Regions from separate parts of the Homo sapiens genome. Here regions 2, 3 and 4 are each linked to region 1. The links are contacts of gene promoters, found by promoter capture Hi-C in blood cells and fetal thymus (Javierre and others, 2016). All regions are on one chromosome and are shown on one strand. The core of a region is centred on a gene start or on the middle of the fragment in contact, and the rest is flanking DNA. Distances in the headings are between cores, read along the strand shown. Region 1 holds the start of CD3E (CD3 epsilon subunit of T-cell receptor complex). Region 2 overlaps KMT2A (lysine methyltransferase 2A). Region 3 has its middle 24 kb from the start of SCN4B. Region 4 overlaps KMT2A (lysine methyltransferase 2A).

Evidence for each region. The method cuts DNA at HindIII sites, captures the fragments that hold promoters and counts their contacts. A CHiCAGO score of 5 or more calls a contact.
Region 2: a contact is called between a fragment that was not itself captured here and the fragment with the promoter of CD3E in region 1, in 6 of 17 cell types (naive CD4 T cells, activated CD4 T cells, total CD8 T cells and 3 more). The highest score is 11.2, in naive CD4 T cells.
Region 3: a contact is called between a fragment that was not itself captured here and the fragment with the promoter of CD3E in region 1, in 1 of 17 cell types (neutrophils). The highest score is 5.4, in neutrophils.
Region 4: a contact is called between a fragment that was not itself captured here and the fragment with the promoter of CD3E in region 1, in 3 of 17 cell types (naive CD4 T cells, activated CD4 T cells and total CD8 T cells). The highest score is 7.0, in naive CD4 T cells.

Annotation. Positions count from the first base shown.
Region 1 is chr11:118,303,343-118,306,067 of GRCh38, reverse strand. CD3E (CD3 epsilon subunit of T-cell receptor complex) reads right to left here and starts at 1,338. Exons shown (of 9, transcript NM_000733.4): 1 at 1,292-1,338; 2 at 1,067-1,174. The coding sequence starts at 1,115. The HindIII fragment of the contact is 4,787 bases long and covers 1-2,725 here.
Region 2 is chr11:118,493,683-118,496,407 of GRCh38, reverse strand. It overlaps KMT2A (lysine methyltransferase 2A), which reads right to left. Exons shown (of 36, transcript NM_001197104.2): 17 at 2,010-2,120; 18 at 1,641-1,714; 19 at 515-708; 20 at 41-147. Among named protein-coding and RNA genes, the nearest start is that of TTC36, 32 kb to the left of the region's middle. The HindIII fragment of the contact is 3,432 bases long and covers 1-2,725 here.
Region 3 is chr11:118,127,862-118,130,586 of GRCh38, reverse strand. No RefSeq gene overlaps it. Among named protein-coding and RNA genes, the nearest start is that of SCN4B, 24 kb to the left of the region's middle. RefSeq lists enhancers at 1-203, 204-705. The HindIII fragment of the contact is 4,106 bases long and covers 1-2,725 here.
Region 4 is chr11:118,473,927-118,476,651 of GRCh38, reverse strand. KMT2A (lysine methyltransferase 2A) reads right to left here. Exons shown (of 36, transcript NM_001197104.2): 3 at 2,337-2,725. Among named protein-coding and RNA genes, the nearest start is that of KMT2A, 39 kb to the right of the region's middle. The HindIII fragment of the contact is 2,169 bases long and covers 281-2,449 here.

The DNA of each region.
Region 1 (2,725 bases), core at 89-2,588:
AAACTTGAGAGCGTACTAGACATGCGGAATCTCCATTTCCAGTCTGGGTCTTTTGAAACAGAAGCTGCATTTTTAACAAGATCCCCAGGTGATTTGTGTGCACATTCAAGACGTGAGAAACCCAAGATGAAGCAGGAAGTGGAGACATCGTTGCTGTGGGTCTGAGACGGGAGCACCAGCTGTGATAGTGTTTTCTAGGTCTTTGAAATAAAACCATCACGAGCCATTTTGCCTCATGTGGTGCAGCCATTTAGAGTACAAACAGTCCTGGTCTCACAGATTGGCTTCGGCACTTACTATGTGGTTTAAAACAAGTTATTTAACTTTTTTGAGTATCAATTTCTTAATCTGTGAAGTAGAGAGGACTTATCAGTTTATATAGTCAAAATTAAAAAGAATTTTAAAAAGAGGATATAACACCTTCCTTCCTAGGCAGAAGTAGGATTAAACCAGTTAACACGTCTAAATAATTTTTTCTTTACACAGTATCTGACAATAAATGGCAACTTTTTTTGGTATTATTTATCTCATATGAGATACAGAAATGCTCTTGGTTATTTATCAATTCATAATCCATCTTGCTTCAAAAAAATGAAATAAACTGAAAGTTGTTGGTCACTTGAAAAGGACTAAAAATTACGAGGCGTTTTATGGTCTCAAAGATAGTGAATTGCTATATATGCCCTGTGCAGAGTTTGGACGCAAGTATCTGGTCTCTTCAAAACAAGGAGTGGAGCTTCGCTCTTCCAGTCTCTTTTGGGTTAGTTCTGGAGGGCTGGGTAAGTTGGAATGAGCTCGTACTTAGAGGTAGCGAGACCTCTCTGCTCACAATAGCTATGATCACCCCAACTGCTCTTCTTTGCCTGCTCCCCGAACGCTCTCCCAGGCACCCGTGGCCTATCTTTTTCTTTAGTCCCCAGCTCTAATCCCTCACCCTAACATAGCACAAACAGTTCCTTACATCTGGTAAATGAGGCTCCTTGGTGCCACTAGGCAGTGCCAGGTAAGGCTGTAAGCCTTCCAGCGGTCTGGAGACACACCACCCTTTCCACTCCATCCTACTCACCTGATAAGAGGCAGAGGCCCAGAACTCTCCAGTGAGTGCCCGACTGCATCTTTGTTTCATGGGACTGTTACTTTACTAAGATGGCGGAGGCCAGCAGACTTACTACTTCTGGAAAAAAAGCAAAACAGATGACTTTTTCAAAACATCTGCTAGAGATAAGGACCCTGGGGCCATTGTTCCCAATGCTAGGATGAAAAAGGAGGGCTTTATAAGAGAGAGACTCACCATTTTCTGAAGCAGGCACCTGAGGCTGGGAGGGGAGGAGGGTTTCTGAACCCCACACAGGAAGTAGAGAGGCCTCTGGGCCTGCGGGTTTTACCTCACTTGGAAACGTTCAAGGCAGAGGCCTCCACCTGGACTGGTTGAAGAAAGCTGGGTCCCACAGCCTTCCTAGAAGGCCAAACAAGAGGACTCTGACAATACCTGGAGGGGCCATGAAAAATACATGACATTTAGCTGTCCAGACCATGTAGTAGGTTGGCACAAAAGTAACTGCAGTTTTTGCCATTAAAAGTAATTGTAATACAATATGCCTCCACATTGCGGGGTCTTCCTTCCTCTATAAGCTCTGACAGGAAGAGGGAGATGCACTGAACATTTGCTTTCTGTGTGGTGGATCTGGCATGGAGCAGCAGGGTGCAGCCATCTTATTAACAAAACTTGTTGGCTTGAAAATACATGTTGACTTAAATCCATAAGAATTAAATCCAAAGAAAAAATGCCACTTTTTACCTATATTCTTTACAAAAATATTTAAAAACACAAGACTCAATGTTGAACAGGGTAAAGAGTGATAGTGTCAAAGTCTGCTGGTATGAGTGTGAATTGATGTAACCTTTCTTTATGTTTAAGCATGCATTAATCAAATGCTTACTATATCCAAGCACCGTTCTAAGAGCTTTTCTGATATATCTTATTTAATCCTCAAAACGACCCTCTAAGGTAAGTATTATTTTTATTTTTATTTCCATTTTATACTTGAGCAAACTAAGGCTCAGGCAGGTTATCTAAGTTGCAGATTACAGAGCTGGGACTCTAGAAAACATTTTGATGAAATTCACTTATTTAATACATATTTTCTGTCTACTGTACTGTAGTTATATGCTGGGTGCTAGTAATACAGGAGAAACAAGATAAATAGTCCTCTTGGATAAAAAAGGAAATGTGGAGATTAAACAGATAACCTCATAACCAATAACCATGCCCCGCATGATGGTGTACACCTGTATTCCCAGCTACTCAGGAGGCTGAGGCAGGAGGACTGACTGAGCCCAGGGGTTCGAGACTGCAGTGAGTGTGATTGTGCCTGTGAATAGCCACTGCGCTCCAGCCTAGGCAACATAGTGAGATCCCATCTCTAAAAAACCCCCCAGATAACTTCAGGAGATTGATGCTAAGAAAAAAGACGTTCAGGTGCTGTGGGAGTGATAGAAGGGATCTAAGATAGTCTGGGGTGGGATGGGGAAGAGAAGGTCCCCCTGAGCAGGTGACATCTAAGCTGAAATTTGATGGAGGAACAGCAATGAACCAGGTGGAGTGGAAAGCATTCCAGATAGAGGCAGCAGCATGTTTGAAGTCCAGAGATGAGGAAGAGAAATGGAAAATCCAGCACGGCAGGTAACAGGGAGAACGAGGAGTGTAAGAAATAATATAAGAAAT
Region 2 (2,725 bases), core at 169-2,668, 190 kb before region 1:
AGTATGTATTAACTAGGGCCCTGTGTTGCAAAGTACTTACATTAGCACTGTCATCACCATAAGTCAAACATAACGCACACTGTCTATTGTCTTCTATGCCTGGGGGTGGGTTCAGCTCTGGACTGTCTTCTCGACTCCTATCAGTACCTTGAAATCCAAAAGACTCCCATCAATACCTTGAGATCCAGTTAAAATTGGCAATACTATGTCTGATTTCAAGGAAAAAAGAAATAATTCAGCTTACATAGCCCACAGCCTATAAAATAACCACTTTTCAAAAAGTGTTCAGAGTTACGCTACCTCATCATCTATGTTACAATACTCCAGAGTATTTATATCAAGTCCTCATTAACACCTCAAGTGAAGCAAAATTAATGATGGTATTACATTTAAGGATGACCTGAAAATTCCTTTCTGATATCCAAGTATATCTAATTTTAGTGAATTGGATTCACGAAGTCAATCATCTGCATCTAGAGGGAAATGGGTGACGACTCTCCTTTTGGTGGCTTACTCAAAATTGGTGGTGTAGGAGGATGCAGAGGAGTTGGTGAGTCTGGTTCTCCAGGACCTTTGGGTTTGGGAGCTGGAATGATTTTCTTCATTAAAGGAGGCTGCTCAGTGTGGCTGTTTTCCTCTCGCTCCTGCCACTGAGCATAATTATGGTCAAGTGAAGGTGGAAGCACTGCGTTTGGTAACATCCCACTGCTGAAAATAATTGATTCAACAAGCATTTATTGAACTCCTACAGTATACCTAGAACTGTATAAAATAAATTCTTGATATCACCTGTTGCCCCATGTAGGAGCCATTCACAGAATATAAGAACAAGTCACAGCGTTTGAAAATTGCTGAAGTACACAGAACTCAATATTTTAAAAAATATCTCAACATATGACTCTTGGTTAAACTTGCTGAAACAAATGATAACCCTATCAAAAACTCAAAAGAGGCCGGGCATGGTGGCTCATGCCTGTAATCCCAGCACTTTTGGGAGGGTGAGGCAGGCGGATCACCAGGTCAAGAGATCAAGACCATCCTGGCCAAAATGGTGAAACCCAGTCTCTATTAAAATACAAAAATTAGCTGGGCATGGTGGTGCCCGCCTGTTTTCCCAGCTACTTGGGAGGCTGAGGGAGGAGAATCGCTTGAACCAGGGAGGCGGAGGTTGTAGTGAGCCGAGATCATGTCACTGCACTCCAGCCTGGTGACAGAACGAGACTCCGTCTCAAAAAAAAAAAAATAAATAAATAAATAAAATCAAATCAAAAGAATTTACTGGAATAAAAATTAAAGGTTACATATGGAAAATCAAGAGCAGTACAAAGCACCATTTGAACTATCAGTCAAACAGAACCCATTTATAACAAGGCCAGCTACATGGCTGTACCACACATGTATTGTACATTTGTCACAATTAAACCAAGCTCCCTACAATAAAACAAATATAAAAGTAAAGAACAAAAAGGCAATTGCTTATAACAAACATTAAATGTAGTCCTCAAAACCACACCGAAAAGGCATTTCAACCAATTCATTTCTAGTATTAAAACCTTTTGGAAAACTGCAATCTAGAAATATGAGAACTCTCAGATTTCTAGCCGATGAGGAGAAAAAAAAGTTATGCTAAATTCACTTACTTGCTTGATACTTTATTTGGCTCCCAAAACCTGGACTTTTTGACACTGAACCATGGAAAAACACGTTCCATTTGCTAAAAGAAAACACAAACAAAATGTAAATATGTAAACACTCATTTAGATACCACATGAAAAATCTTCAAACCAGCTTCTCTGTTAATACGAGGATAATTTCAGGCCACCAAGAGAAAGATCCATCCACTCTGGCAACCTCACCAAGTTCCTCTCAAAGAATCAGGGGATCAAATTAAACCAAAGATGTTTTATACACACCACAAAGCAAAAAGTAGAAGAGAACAAGTTCATTGTATTCACAGGGTAATTACTTATAGGTAAGCATTAAAAACATGAATTAGTAATATCATTCACCCGAATGAAGAAGGACTTGACCATGCTGTTGGCTTTTTTAATTTCTGGCTGTCCTCCATCTGAATTAATGGCTGCTTGAATGATCTTCACAATATCATCACTGAACTCCAACTGTATACAAAAACAAAATGTTAATTATTCTTAAAACAGTGTGCTCTGAAAACCATTTCCTCTTCCCTCCTTAATCATCCAGCACAGAGATCCAACAGAAAACTCACACCCTATTTTAATGTGGTATAATACTCTTTGGCTGAGACCTTTGAGATTCAATTCACGATTAACCTGTGGCAATTAAGAGATGCCAGGCTAATGAGGTAAGAATGCAAACAAATTGGCTGTATCATGATAAATTATCCAAGCAGGTCCACAGTTTTTATTTTGGATTAAAATAAATAAACAGTGGCTCACGCCTGTAATCCCAGCACTTTGGGAGGCTGATGTGGGTGGATCACTTAAGGTCAGGAGTTCATGACCAGCCTAGCCAACATGGTGAAACCCAATCTCCGCCAAAAATACAAAATTAGCCAGGCATGGTGGCACATGCTTATGTAATCCCAGCTACTTGGGAGGCTGAGGCAGGAGAATCACTTGATTACGGGAGGCAGAGGTTGCAGTGAGCCGAGATCATGTCACTGCATGCCAGCCTGGGTAACAGAGCGAGACTCCATCTCAAATAAATAAATAAATAAATAAAAATAAACAACAGAATCGCAAAT
Region 3 (2,725 bases), core at 68-2,567, 180 kb after region 1:
CTGTTACCTACCAGTGAAACGGCCTTGGGAAAGCCACTTCATCTCTCCAAGCCTTAGTTCCCTAACCTGCAAAATGGGGATGATGACATCTACTGCATGGTACTCTTGTAAGATTAAATGAATCAACAGGTGTGAATTTTTTTTTTTTTTTTGAGACAGAGTCTGGCTCTGTTGCCCAGGCTGGAGTACAGTGGCACGATCTCAGCTCACTGCAACCTCCACCTCCTGGGTTCAAGCAATTCTCCTGCCTCAGCCTCCCAAGTAGCTGGGATTACAGGCATGTGCCACCATGCCCAGCTAATTTTTTGTATTTTTAGTAAGACGGGGTTTTGCCACGTTGGCCAGGCTGGTCTTGAACTCCTGACCTCAGGTGATCTGCTCGCTTTGGCCTCCCAAACTGCTGGGATTACAGGCATGAGCCACCATGCTTGGACTGAAATACTTAAAAACTACAAAGTGCAGGCCATGTAAATGTTAAGTAGTTTGTAAGCTGAGCCAGCATTACGGGAGGAAAACCCAGGTGTGGCCAGCACTGAGCTCACACCCTCCTGTTCCTGGTCAGGAGGGGCTGTCAGCTGAGTGGGTGAGGGCTGGGAGGCGAGTGACCAGCCCTTCCTGACTTCCTGGCAGACTTGGTTATGTCAACTGCCCAAAACCAAACTCATGATTTCACCTCAATCTGACCCCAAATCTGCTCCTCCCCACGTTTCCTCATTCATCCAGTCATCAGGCCAAAAATTTTGGAGTCTACCATGACTCCTTATTTTGTCTCCGACCTGAAACCTTTTTGTCAGCAAATCCCATTAACTCTTATGTTCAAAATATATCATCACCTCAACTACCTCTCGCTACCACCATCCCTACAGTCCTTGCCCAGGCCGCCCTGGCTCTCCCCTGGATTATTGCAGTAGCTTTCTCACTGGTCTTCCTGCTTTTACCCTTGGTCCTCTTTAATCTAATTTCCAGGGTGGTTCTTTTAAAACAGGATTAGATGATGTCATCTCTAGCTCTGGCCAAGGTGGAGGCATAGGGACCATTTACCCTTGCACCTCAAACAACTAAAAAAATTGGAAAGCACCTATGATACAATGGTTTTCAGACCCTGGACAATAGGCAGCAGAGAATTGTCATTCCTGAGAGGGAGAAACGCAGGAGATGAGCTTTACTGTTGCTCCAGTTTACTGCCTGGAGATCGTTTGTAGGCTGTAGTGCCTGGAAGGCTGGGGAGAGGGCCCCAGGCTAAGCCTAGCATTCTCTCTGAGTTGTGGAGAGGTGCCAAGAATCTGGGGGGAGGTTAGGATAGTAAGAGTTTGCAGGACCAGAGAACCTTGGAGGGTCCTCCCAAGTTTTCAGCTGAGCGCTGATAGTGCAGTTGTGTGAGGAAACTACCTAAGGCAAGGGAAGGAGCCTCTAGAAAGGATGAGGAAGGAAAATCCCTGGAGCTCACATAGGGCAGCCTTTAATCCAGGGCTGACCTCACCCCACTACTGAGGCAATGCCCTTTGAATACTCTTCCTCATCTCTCATGAATTAGGAAGTTTTGCCATTTTAGTTGGCTGTAATGTGAACTACTCTTCGCCCTGCATGAGCTCCGGGGATTGCTTCCTCTAATCTTTTCTGGTGGTTCTTTCTCAGCCTCGGGTGTGCCTGGATCAGCAGCTGAAGGCTCACGGGGACCGTTTGCAGATCTCTGGAGCGCTGTCTCTGTGAAGCTGTCTCTTCTCTGAGATACTGCCCAGTGAGCCCTATCCACAGGACTCCTGACTCCATCTCCTTGATTCTGAGAGGTTGCCAGACTCTGCCCGAGTCCCCTTTCCTGGTGCTGTAGCAATTGGAGGGCTCCCTCATTTGGTTCTCCGCTCTCAGGAATCACTGACCTGTGCTGCCTGATGCCCTGTGTCTGAAAGCCATTTCGTGCATTTTCCCCCCAGCGTTTTAGTTGTTTCAGATGGGAAAGTAATTGCATTTTTTGTTACTGCATTCTTGTCAGAAGAAATTCATGAAAATTTATGTTCACTGAAAAACCCGTACAGAGTTGCTTCTAGAGGTTTTGCCATTGCCAAAACAAATAAATAACCTAAATCTCTGACTGGTGAGTAGATAAAACAAACTGTGTCTAGCCATACAATACAATGGAATATTCCACAAAATCCCATGCACTATGGGATTCTCAAATGCAGTATGCTAAGTGAAAGCACTGGATGAATCTCAAATGCAGTATGCTAGGTGAAATAATTCAGACTCAGAAAGGTACCTGCGTTATCATCTGTGACCCATGTACCACTCTGGTGGGGGTGTTGATGATAATGAGGGACACTCCTGCATGTGTGGAGGCAGGGAGTATATATGAAATCTCTTTACCTTCTGCTCAGTTTTGCTGTGAAACTAAAACTGCTCTAAAAAAAATATTAAGTGTTGGGTTGGTTGCGGTGGCTCATGCCTGTAATTTCAGCTTTGGGAGGCTGAGTTGTAAGGATCCCTTGAGGCCAGGAGTTCAAGACCAGCCTGGGCAACATAGCGAGACCTTGTCTCTCCCAAAACATAAATAAATAAATAAAATAAAAATTAACAATAAAATAAAAAGTGAAGTATTAAGAAAGCCTAAGTCCAGGCGTGGTGGCTTACGCCTGTAATCCCAGCATTTTGGGAGGCTGAGGATGGTGGATCACTTGAGGTCAGGAGTTTGAGACCAGCCTGGCCAACATGGTGAAACCCCGTCTCTACT
Region 4 (2,725 bases), core at 116-2,615, 170 kb before region 1:
ATCAACTATTACTGTATCCTAATTGGCAGCACAAAAAAAGGCCTCTAATCAAAAAATAAAAAACAGCTTGAGGTGGGAAGATCATTTGAGGCCAGGAGTTCAAGACCAGTATGGGCAACATAGCGAGAACCCATCTCTACACAAAATTTAAAAATTGGCTGGGCGTGGTGGTACACACCTGTAGTTCTAGCTACTCAGGAGGCTGGGACAAGAGGATCACTTGAGCCACCCTGGGTGACAGAGTGAGACCCTATCTTAAAAACAAACAAACAACTAAGCTTCTATTCCCAATTATACTACTATTTTAAATTCCCCTCAAAATTCAAGCTGCCAGTCTATATTATCAAAAAGTTCAGTGTGGTATAAATACGGCTTATCTAACCAAAAACTATTTCTTATATTTCCTTGATCATCAGAGAAGTAGGGGTGAAATAACTTATAAATGAAAGTATAGGTGGTGGCTCACGCCTGCAACTCCCAGCACTTTGGGAGGCCGAGGCGGGTAGATCACCTGAGGTCGGGAGTTTGAGACCAGCCTGACCAACATGGAGAAACCCTGTCTCTACTAAAAATACAAAATTAGCTGGGCGTGGTGGTGCATGCCCGTAATCCCAGCTACTTGGGAGGCTGAGGCAGGAGAATTGCTTGAACCTGGGAGGCGGACGTTGCAGTGAGCCAAGATCACGCCATTGCACTCCAGCCTGGGCAACAAGAGCGAAATTCCGTCTCAAAAAAAAGAGAAAGTATAAAAGGCTCCAAAAGAAATGTCTCAGATTTTAAAGAGCCGCTGCTCCTATCACAAAAACATCCAACATGGTGTTAAAAATAAGTCCCATCACATTCCTGCTACAATTCTCAACTGGCAGAATTAGTAAATGTAACTATGGCCCTAGGTTGAATAACATTAATTTTATTTATTTATTTTTTTAGAGACGGAGTCTCGCCCTGTCACCCAGGCTGGAGTGTAGTGCCGTGATCTCGGCTCACTGCAACCTCCGCCTCCCGGGTTCAAGCGATTCTCCTGCCTCAGCCTCCCGAGTAGCTAGGACTACAGGCGCATGCCACCATGTCTGGCTAATTTTTTGGATTTTTAGTAGAGACAGGGTTTCACCGTGTTAGCCAGGATGGTCTCGATCTCCTGACCTCGTGATCCACCTGCCTCGGCCTCCCAAAGTGCTGGGATTACAGGCGTAAGCCACCGTACCCAGCCCGTGAATAACATTACAAATATAAGTTTATGGCCATCTTAACCTAACCTGATTTGCTGCCATAAATAGGCATCTACTACATGACGATTTTTTTAAAACCCTAAAGATCAGCAACTTTTCTCAGAAAAGGCCAGTGACTAGCTTACTTTGTTAAACAAATAAACAAAACAATAAAAAAAAAACAAAAATGCTGGTCTTTGTAAAAATATTTGGCATCATCTTAACTAACTGAATTCTATAGCTTTCCTGTTCCATGGCTCAAGGCTAAGTGCTTCTAATCTGTTTGTTTATTTATTTATTTATTTATTTTGAGATAGAGACTTACTCTATTGGCCCAGGCTGGAGTGCAGTGGCGGGATCTCAGCTCACTGCCATCTCTACCTCCGGGGTTCAAGAGATTCTTGTGCCTCAATCTCCCCAGTAGCTGGGACTAGAGGCATGCATCACCACGCCCAGCTAATTTTTTTTTTTTTTTTAGTAGAGATGAGGTTTCACCGTGTTGGCCAGGCCAGGCTGGTCTCAAACTCCTGACCTCAAGTGATCCGCCCACCTTGGCCTCCCAAAGTGATGGGATTACAGGCATGAGCCATCGCACCTGGCCAGTACTTCTCATTTGTATTCTGCAAAAACATATTATCTATTGCTCCAATCCCTCACTACTCAGAGGAAGAGAATGCTCCCCTCCGGTTTTCTATTCTATCGGGGATAGTAAAACAATTTGACTATTAAAATGTACCTTTACAATTAAGTCCCTGGTTTAATTACATCAAACTTATAAGGTACAAACAACTCAGCATCCTCTGTGATATAGTCCCAACCTTAGTTCATTCAGCCTTAGTTCACCAGTTTTCCACAGATGCCAATCCAGCTATCCAGTATTCCTCAAATATATTTCTTACTTTTCCATTTCTACCCACACTGTTCCCTCTACTTAGAATGTTATGTCCTGCCACTTTCTACCTATCAAAATCCTACTGGTCCTTGAAGGACTACTGCAAATACCACTGCCTCCACCATACTTTTCTTGGTTCTCATAACTGGATGTAATTGAACCACTTAGCCTAAAACTTGCCCATAGAAAGGGCTCAATAAACTGTTAGTTTTAATAGGCAAGGTGGAAAAGAGTACCTGTGCTTTGGGCTGGTCGGTTTGTTTAAGACTCTTACTCTTCTCAATCTTGCAGAGCTGAGCTTTGGCCTTTTTTAGGAGGCTGGCAACCCTCTTGTCAGTCATTGGAAGCTTGTCTGCCTGAGCCAACATGGAGCCTATGGAGGAAGTGGAATGTTTAACAGTGCTAGATGAAGGAGTGGAAAGGCAGAGGGTTTTCTCCTTCTCCAGGGATGGGGCAGTTGGGCCGAGGTCCAAGTTGGTTTTTTCCAGATTTCCTCTCCCTTTCTTTATAAGTATTTTGGTTTTGACAGCTGTTGTATCCCCAAGAGTCACAGAAGTAATATCAGTCCCAGAATCATGTGATGAAGACTTCTTCCGCCCTGTTGCTTTTTTGGCAGAAGATGAAG